Linked DNA regions of Homo sapiens: regions 2 and 3 are each linked to region 1. The links are contacts of gene promoters, found by promoter capture Hi-C in human tissues and cell types (Jung and others, 2019). All regions are on one chromosome and are shown on one strand. Each heading gives the region's core, a stretch centred on a gene start or on the middle of the fragment in contact. The rest is flanking DNA. Distances are from core to core; before and after follow the strand shown.

Evidence for each region. Contacts are between HindIII fragments. The study calls those that stand out against the background at their distance.
Region 2: a fragment that was not itself captured here is called in contact with the fragment with the promoter of DSC1 in region 1 in 2 of the 25 tissues and cell types used here (adrenal gland and stomach).
Region 3: a contact is called between a fragment that was not itself captured here and the fragment with the promoter of DSC1 in region 1, in 5 of the 25 tissues and cell types used here (H1 embryonic stem cells, adrenal gland, heart right ventricle and 2 more).

The regions. Positions count from the first base shown.
Region 1 is chr18:31,161,456-31,164,169 of GRCh38, reverse strand. DSC1 (desmocollin 1) reads left to right here and starts at 1,314. Exons shown (of 16, transcript NM_024421.2): 1 at 1,314-1,638. The coding sequence starts at 1,576. It overlaps DSCAS (DSC1/DSC2 antisense RNA), which reads right to left. Exons shown (of 4, transcript NR_110785.1): 4 at 1,381-1,635. The HindIII fragment of the contact is 13,832 bases long and covers 1-2,714 here.
Region 2 is chr18:30,983,534-30,986,233 of GRCh38, reverse strand. It overlaps the pseudogene RNU6-857P. Among named protein-coding and RNA genes, the nearest start is that of DSC3, 58 kb to the left of the region's middle. RefSeq lists a silencer at 180-376. The HindIII fragment of the contact is 7,172 bases long and covers 1-2,700 here.
Region 3 is chr18:31,396,132-31,398,994 of GRCh38, reverse strand. The region is part of intron 8 of DSG4 (desmoglein 4); the gene reads right to left. All of the region lies in intron 1 of DSG1-AS1 (DSG1 antisense RNA 1), which reads left to right. Among named protein-coding and RNA genes, the nearest start is that of DSG4, 21 kb to the right of the region's middle. RefSeq lists a silencer at 523-723. The HindIII fragment of the contact is 5,238 bases long and covers 1-2,863 here.

The DNA of each region.
Region 1 (2,714 bases), core at 65-2,564:
TGTCTATCTATCTATCTAAATATATACTTAGATGATGCTTAAACATGCACAGAATTACACTTGGCTGTACACATATACATCTAAGTAATTTTTCTATTTCTATATTCCCATTCTTTTCTCCCAAAACGCCAGATATAAAAATATTCCATTAAAATGACTGTATTTTCTGATTGAGAAATCAAATTCCAATGCAGTCACAAAATATGTTTATTAGTGGGTATACCACTAGCAATAAAATACTACAAGATATCTTTTAGTTTTTTTTCTCCTGGGTCATTCATTTTCCAAATCTTCCTAGCTTCTAATTCTAATGAAGCAGTTACATTTATTTCTGTCTCTACATACAAGGAGAAATTGTTCCCATTGTCAAATAAGCTGAAGAAAACCTTTCTTTCCTCCCTTCTCAGCAGCATGGGTGTTGGGCTCTACCTTAACATTTGAAAATATTTATCCTTCTGTCCTAACTTCCATCACTGCCATTGAGTGCAATTGGTATCACTGAGCTCACTAATTTGGGACAGGAATAATGATGCTAAAGCTCTTGTTAGAGGAATCATTAGGGTTTAAAAAAATCTACACTTGATGGCCTGATTGTACTATTAAGCTAGGATATCCTATGTGTAATGTACAAGTAATTAGGGTGAATAGAGTGATTTTAGAGAGACTTGCTCTCAAAGATTGTAGTTGTCCTTGAAAAAATATAAAGGTAAAAAGCAGTGGCATCTTGTACAACAAAAGGAAAGCCACAAGAAAGATTATATGCTAGCTATTTCTTTATTCTCTTTCTTTTATGAAGTCTTTACATTCTGATAAGTTTCCTGTGACATCTAGAGAACCAACCACAGTGAATAGTCAATAACAGGAAGTAGATACCATGCCTTTATGAAGTTGCTGCTTTAAACTGGAATGCCAGTTCTCTAGCAGAACTACAGTGTTCTACAGGACCGATGACACTTAAATGCTTAGATGGGAGATAACTTCTGATGAGTGTGATTACACACGCTTAGGTCCTCTGATTTGCCAATGGCAGTTGAGGAGGCATCACTTCCTTGCATGGCGTTTGTGCACAATTTATGTTTGTACCCGAGGGCAAGACAGGTTAATAAGGCCAAGAAGGAGGGGAGGCTGTGGGAGTGGGTAATAACTGGGGAGGACTTCACAGCATCAACCTGGGGGAAAGGGAGGAGGGCTGAGGATGAAGGGTGTTCCCTCCTCCTTCTGCCTATGTGTTAAGTGGCAAGAGAAATTTTGAAAGCTGCTGTGAGGAGGAGCTACTGACTGGGTTTTGGGGTGTTTTGTACCCCACCCTCCTCACTTGTAGGAAAGCCTCTTTGCATTTAGACGTAATTGAACTGGAAGGAAGGAGACTGGCCAGGGAATAGGGGGAAAGAAATTCTCCCGTTGCTCCTCCTACTGTTTATCACTTGCCTCCGGACTGTCTTCCAAACCAAGCTCAGCTGCATCAAGGTGGCAGCAGAATACCCTGTGCAAGTGCCAGCGTCTTCTTAGCCGCTCTGTGCATCCCAGGCTGCCCTGTTATCTGGCCACCGTCCCTGGCCATTGGGACTGCTTCTGATGGCTCTGGCCTCTGCTGCCCCAGGGAGCATCTTCTGTAAGCAGCTCCTTTTCTCTCTCCTGGTGAGTAACAACCAAAGGATTAGGGAATTCAAGCATGTTACTACCTGCTTCCTCTCTGCAGTTTGGGCTTGAAAGAGACTAGGAGTGAGGATGGGAGGCAGAGAAGAGAGATTGGGGAAAACAAAAGCAGATCTGAGGAAGATTCAGGGAAGAGTTGAGAGGCTTGGGATTCAGGATGGAAAGTGTTCAGCTTACTTCTCAAGCACCCACTGCCAGAGTGTTAAAAGTTTTCAAGGGAATCCCTCTTCCATCCTGCTGTGGTGATTTTCTAAGAGTAGAGAAGTGAATTCATTCTTTAGGCATTTGGCCCAGAAGTTTCTGAGGTTTACTTCTGCTACCAGTGATTACATAAACTCATGTTATTTAACATGCTGAGTTCTACTAAGCTGCAAAAAAAGAGAAAGGATTCTGGGTGAACATGCAAATTATCCAGGACTTTTTGAATTTTACCCACGAAGCAGTTTAAGCAAAGAATAGTTTAAGAAAAATAACAAAAATGTGACTGTCATTGAAAATATCCTCAACTTGGCTTCCACTTGGGTTTTTAATAGCTTTGTAACTGTGTAAGGTGCTATTTTTTCTTTGGAGGTGAGGGAAGAGAGGGGGGTTATTTCACACATCCGTCCATCATTTCTGAGGTGTGAGTTTCCTATTTTTTCATTTTAGCAAAATACTTGAGTTTCAAAATATATTTTTAGAAATGGCAGGTATGAGGACAAACATTTTCTCCATGTAAATAATATACAATGCAGGGTTGATGGTCACCTTCTCATCCTGTAACTGCTTAGGGAGACGATAACTCAGATACCATCTTAAGTTAGTACAAGTTTGGTAAAATGTGGTAAAAATGTTTCAAAGGATTCTACCCACATTTCTTTTGCTTCTGATCCCTGTACTGTCTAATATCTCTTGGACAATTCATCTCCTGTTTATTTATTTCTGACTCTGAAACTGACTAAAAGGGTGTCACTAAGCCACTTAGTCAGTGATTTAACCTGAAGACGGGAATAGTATTTAATGAATGGAAACCTTCAGTGGCTCTGCCTGCAGAGGGAGGACCATCAACATGGAATCCT
Region 2 (2,700 bases), core at 31-2,530, 180 kb after region 1:
TATCTGTCATAATTTCCTATCTCCAATCTATACATCAACATGCATACCAAACTAACAACAGAATCAGATTATTGTCTTGATAGACGAGGACAAGGCAACAAAAGAACAATGATCCAAAGATAAGGACAACACATAAACACACATGCACACACACGCGCACACACACGCACACATACGCACACACACAGAGACATGCATACATGCACACCCACGCACACACAGACATACACACACACAGACACACACACAGACACAAATGAGCACACAGATGCGCACACACACGCACACACCCACACACATGCACTTGCACACACAGACTCACACATGCACACACACACGCACACACACACAGACATGCACAGGCCCACATGCGCACACACACAGGCACACACACACGCAGACACATGCACACATGCACATATGCAAGCAGGCACACGCACACATGCAGACACATGCACACACACAGACAAAATATAAGCTTCAAGTTTGAATGCAAGTTATGTTCTAAACAGGTATAATAATTGTTTGGCTTACCATGAGAAAAATGTTTAACTTTCCAAGTGACCTGGGCAAGCTACTTAGTTTCTCTGTGTTTCAGTTTGTTCTCTAAAACAGGGCTCTTCATTTGATTGTTCAGTTATTCAGTCATTCAAACTTTCACAAATATTTCTTGGTGAACTACCACATGCCAAGCACACAGTTCTAGAGGCTAAAGATGTAGCAGTGAATAAAATAGTCAAAATCTGTGTTCTCTTGTCAATTGCATCCCAGAAACAGAAGGGAGACAGGTAATAAACAAATGTACAAATACATGTATAATACATCATGCAGCAATAAATAACACGAAGAAAAATAAAGCAGAGTGAGGGGCATAGAGAACGATGGCAGGTTTTTATTTTATTAAGAGTGGTCGAAGGACGCCCTTACGAAAAGGCAGTATTTGAGTAGAGACCTGAAGAAAGTGAAAGGAAGTGAGGTGGCAAGCCAGTGGGCATGCAGCAAAAATGGGCAGAGAACTTCTGGGGAAAGGAAACAGCTAACTCAAGGGCCCTCAGGTGCTATTTTGCTTGATATGTTCAATAAAGTGGATGCAGCTGAACTTGACTGAGAGCAAGGAAGAGTAACAGGAAATGAAGAGAAGGCAACAGTGGGAAGCCAGAGTCTGTAGGGTCATTGACTGTGATAGCAGATGGGAGGCCAGGCATGGTGGCTCACATCTATAATTCTAGTGCTTTGGAAGGCTGAGACAAGAGGATTGCTTGAGATCTGGAGCTCAAGACCAGTCTGGGCAACATAGTGAGACCTCATTTCTACAAAAAATTAAATAAATTAGCTAGTGTGGTGGCACATGCCTGTAGGCCCAGTTACTTGGGAGGCTGAGGCAGGAGGATCACTTGAGCCCAGCAGTTGGAGGCTGAGTGAGCTATGATTGTGTCACTGCACTCCAGCCGGGGTGACAGAGTGAGACCTTGTCTCAAAACAAGCAAACAAACAAACAAGCAAAATTTAAAAAGTAATAATGATATGGGATCTCACTTTGAATAAGATCTATTGGATGGTTTTGAGCAGAGCAGAGACATGAGCTATAATAGTGTCTGCACCATAGGTTAAATGTTTGTGCACATGTTTTCTTCTTTTTTTCCTTCTCTTCCTTTTCATCTTCTTTCTTTGCCTTCTCTTCTCTTTTTTAAAACATTCTTCTTTTTTTTTTTTTTTTTTTTGAGATGGAATCTCATTCTGTCGCCCAAACTGGAGTGAAGCGGTGTGATCTCGGCTCACTGCAACCTCCCTCTCCCAGGTTCACACAATTCTCCTGCCTCAGCATCCCAAGCAGGTGGGATTACAGGCTCACACCACCACACCCGGCTAATTTTTGTGTTTGTATTTTTAGTAGAGACGGGATTTCATCATGTTGACCAGGCTGGTCTCAAACTCCTAACCTCAAGTGATCCACCCGCCTCAGCCTCCCAAAGTGCTGAGATTACAGACGTGAGCCACCATGCCTATCCCATTCTTCAATTTATATGAAATGTTTCACAAAGTTTGCGTGTTATCCCTGTGCAGGGGTCACGCTAATCTCTGTGTCATTGATGTACAATTTTAGTATATGTGTTGCAGAAGCCAACACTCTTTATTTTCTTCCCCCTGTCATCTGCCTCCCCCACCTCCTCCTTCCTCCTTCTTTTATGTTATTTTTTCTTTTTTTTTTTTTTTGAGACGGAGTCTCGCTCTGTCGCCCAGGCCGGACTGCGGACTGCAGTGGCGCAATCTCGGCTCACTGCAAGCTCCGCCTCCCGGGTTCACGCCATTCTCCTGCCTCAGCCTCCCGAGTAGCTGGGACTACAGGCGCCCGCCACCGCGCCCGGCTAATTTTTTGTATTTTTAGTAGAGACGGGGTTTCACCGTGTTAGCCAGGATGGTTATGTTATTTTTTTCTGCTCCTTTGTTCTAACCCACAGTTAGAACTGAGTTTGCATCCTGGCTTTGCCACTTGCCAGATGCCTTATTTGCACGTCATAGTGGAGGCCCTATGTGAGTGACTCTGGAATATCCAGGGAATATATAAAAAGACATGAACCAGCAAATGTTTTTGAGAACTTAAGCTGCCAGGATCAACATTTGGCATCTTGTTCTTCTTCTAACAATGGGACTCTAACTTGCCTTCTAACATATCTTCACAGCAACGAGCCTGATCTGATT
Region 3 (2,863 bases), core at 161-2,660, 230 kb before region 1:
GAAATGAAAAACGATTATTTTCCAAATGAGGTGTTTATGAAAAAAAGCTTTAGAATAAAATAAAAACTGTTCACACTATTGAATGAATAAATAAATAGTACCCAGATTTCCTTTATAGAACTCACATCTGAGAATCTTTTGAAAGTATAATCAGCAGAATAAAGGTGCTAATATATATGATGTCACTGAACACGTAATTTTTTTTTAATGGTGTACACAACTTACAAAGAATTTATGATGATTATAGTCGCCGGGTCTGGTGGACAGGAAGACTCCTTTATGGGGCATATTCAAATAAGTAAATGCCATGCCCAGAGAAAAGTCACCTTTGAAATGGGTATTCTGGATAAAAAATAGAATCTTTTGATCCAGAATGATTGATGTGGTGACATGAAAAGTCACAATGAAAAAGTAGTTGCAAAGAAAGAATTGCTGAACAATGTCTGCTTAGAAGGGTTCTGGAAGCTAAGCATCACTTGCAATGCATTTCCAACAGCAGAAGTCAAGATATCAGCAAGGCTTGCCATCAGCAGAACTCTGTGAGGTAAATCTCTGCTTCTCAGGGAAACTCCCTGACATCATGAATGTTTCCTTAGGTTTTAGAGTTACATCTTTTTAGAAGAGCTGATAAGAAAAACATTCACAGAAATTTACTTGGGTTCTTCTTTGGAGATGGCTCAGCATGCCGTGCTTGAATTTCAGCCAAAACCCTTGAGGTTTGAGATTTTGATTCCTTTTGCACATCTGTTTACAGATCCACATAATACCTAGTCCACTGGTCCACGTAATAGACCACCCCACATGATACTTAGCACAGAACTGAATATAAATTATGTACTCAAAAATCACTTTTCAATTGGAAGAGATCTTTCTTCTACAAATCATTTTTTTATTTAATAGAATTCCATGCTATCTTCAAATAAATGAAAAATCGAGAACCTCAAGTTTTTTTTTTTTTTTTTTTTTTTGAGACAGGGTCTCATTCTGTCGCTCAGGCTGGAGTGCAGTGGCACAATCTCAGCTCATTGCAACCTCTGCCTCCTGGATTCAAGCAATTCTCCTGCCTCAGCCTCCCAAGTAGCTGGGACTATAAGCATGCGCCACCACACCGGGCTAATTTTTACATTTTTAGTAGAGACGGGGGTTTTGCCTGTTGGCCAGGCTGGTCTTGAACTCCTGACCTTGGGTGATCCACCTGCCTTGGCCTCTCAAAGAGCTGGGATTACAGGCATGAGCCCCTGTGCCCGGCCTGATAACCTCTATTCTGATAGAGAAATCTCTTGTGCTTTTCTTATGTATATACACAAATGCACTTTTGCTTGTAAGAATATTAATAGTTCTCTCCCCATTGAACAGAGTGTGATGAAAATATACCAACATGTGTCTAAAGTTGTATAATTAAAGATCTTCACATAATCTAGGAACAGGAAATTGTTCTGGGGTCAACCTTTCCTCTTGGAGGAAAGCCAAATAGAGGAAAGGCATAAAATTGTTTACTCATTCTTCGCAAGTGGGGCCCTTTAGTCAGGATTTTCTGATTGTGTCCAGAGGTCAAGGATTGTAAAGAGCAATGGAAACAATGGTTTACTCTGGAGTCTCTTCATAAAGTAAAGGGAGAGGCTGGGGAAACTCAGTCTCTGCAGTTTAAGGAACAAATGAGGAATAACCACTTAACAAGGTACACAGGCGTGTGTTAGAGTGGCTGGGGGTTTGACCTGCAGTGACCAGGAGTGAGGCTCTGGAAGGGCTCAGGATGAAGATAACACATCCAGAAATGTATTTGGCTTCTGGCAGGCTTTTGGCTGCTGTAAATTGTAGTATAGAAGCTACGCTTAGATTCTCACATCCAATTTTTTTGTTCTAATTTAATATGACACTGCTAATTCTAGTGGGGACACTGATTCATTTTAGAATTAAGTATGAAAAAGGGAGAAAGTTAGAAGTCTCCATCCAAAAGAGAATGTGATAGCAGTTTTTCAACAGCAGGGGACTGGGGAAATGGTCAAATATCTGCCTGAGTGTGTATGTTCTGTTTCCAGGAAGGCTCATTTCCTGGTACAAATGTGTCTGGAAGAGAGAAGCAGGGCACACACAGCTGGGAAGGAGTTTATAGTGGTACACAGACTTGGAAGAAAAGTCTCGGCATGCTAGTTCTTTCCTAAAATCGGTTTTACTGGCCCCCAATTACGCAGTGAGACACGAAGGTGGCAGTTAAATATGACTTTGGGACCAGAAAGTTCCAGTTGGTTCTTGTCTTTGCCATTCACCACCTGGGTAAATTGAGACTAGCTATTTGTCTTCTTCAATTTTGTTTCACTTTCTCTAAAAATGGAATTACTGGCTGGGTGCGGTGGCTCACACATGTAATCCCAGCACTGTGCGAAGCTGAGGTGGGCAGATCACTTGAGGTCAGGAGTTTGAGACCAGCCTGGCCAGCAATGGTGAAACCCCGTCTCTACTGAAAATACAAACATTAGCCGGGTGTGGTGGCGCATGCCTGTAATCCCAGCTACTCCGGAGGCTGATGCGTGAAATTGCTTGAACTTGGGAGGAGGAGTTGCAATGATCACACCACTGCACTCCAGCCTGAGTGACAGAGTGAGACTCTGTCTCAAAAAAAAAAAAAAAAAAAAAAAAAAAGCAATGACCCTATTTTCTTCCGAGAGTTGTGAGGATTAAATGAGATAATATATGTGAACCCTCTGGATACACCTTATAACAGAATAGTTGGTGTTTAGTAATTGCTTAATAAATGTTAGAATTATTATAAAAATAGAGAATCAATTTTTTTGTTAGAATTCCAATTGGGTAGCATTTTGCTTTGCTTTTTTCTCAGTGTTGAAGTCAAATATGTATATATATA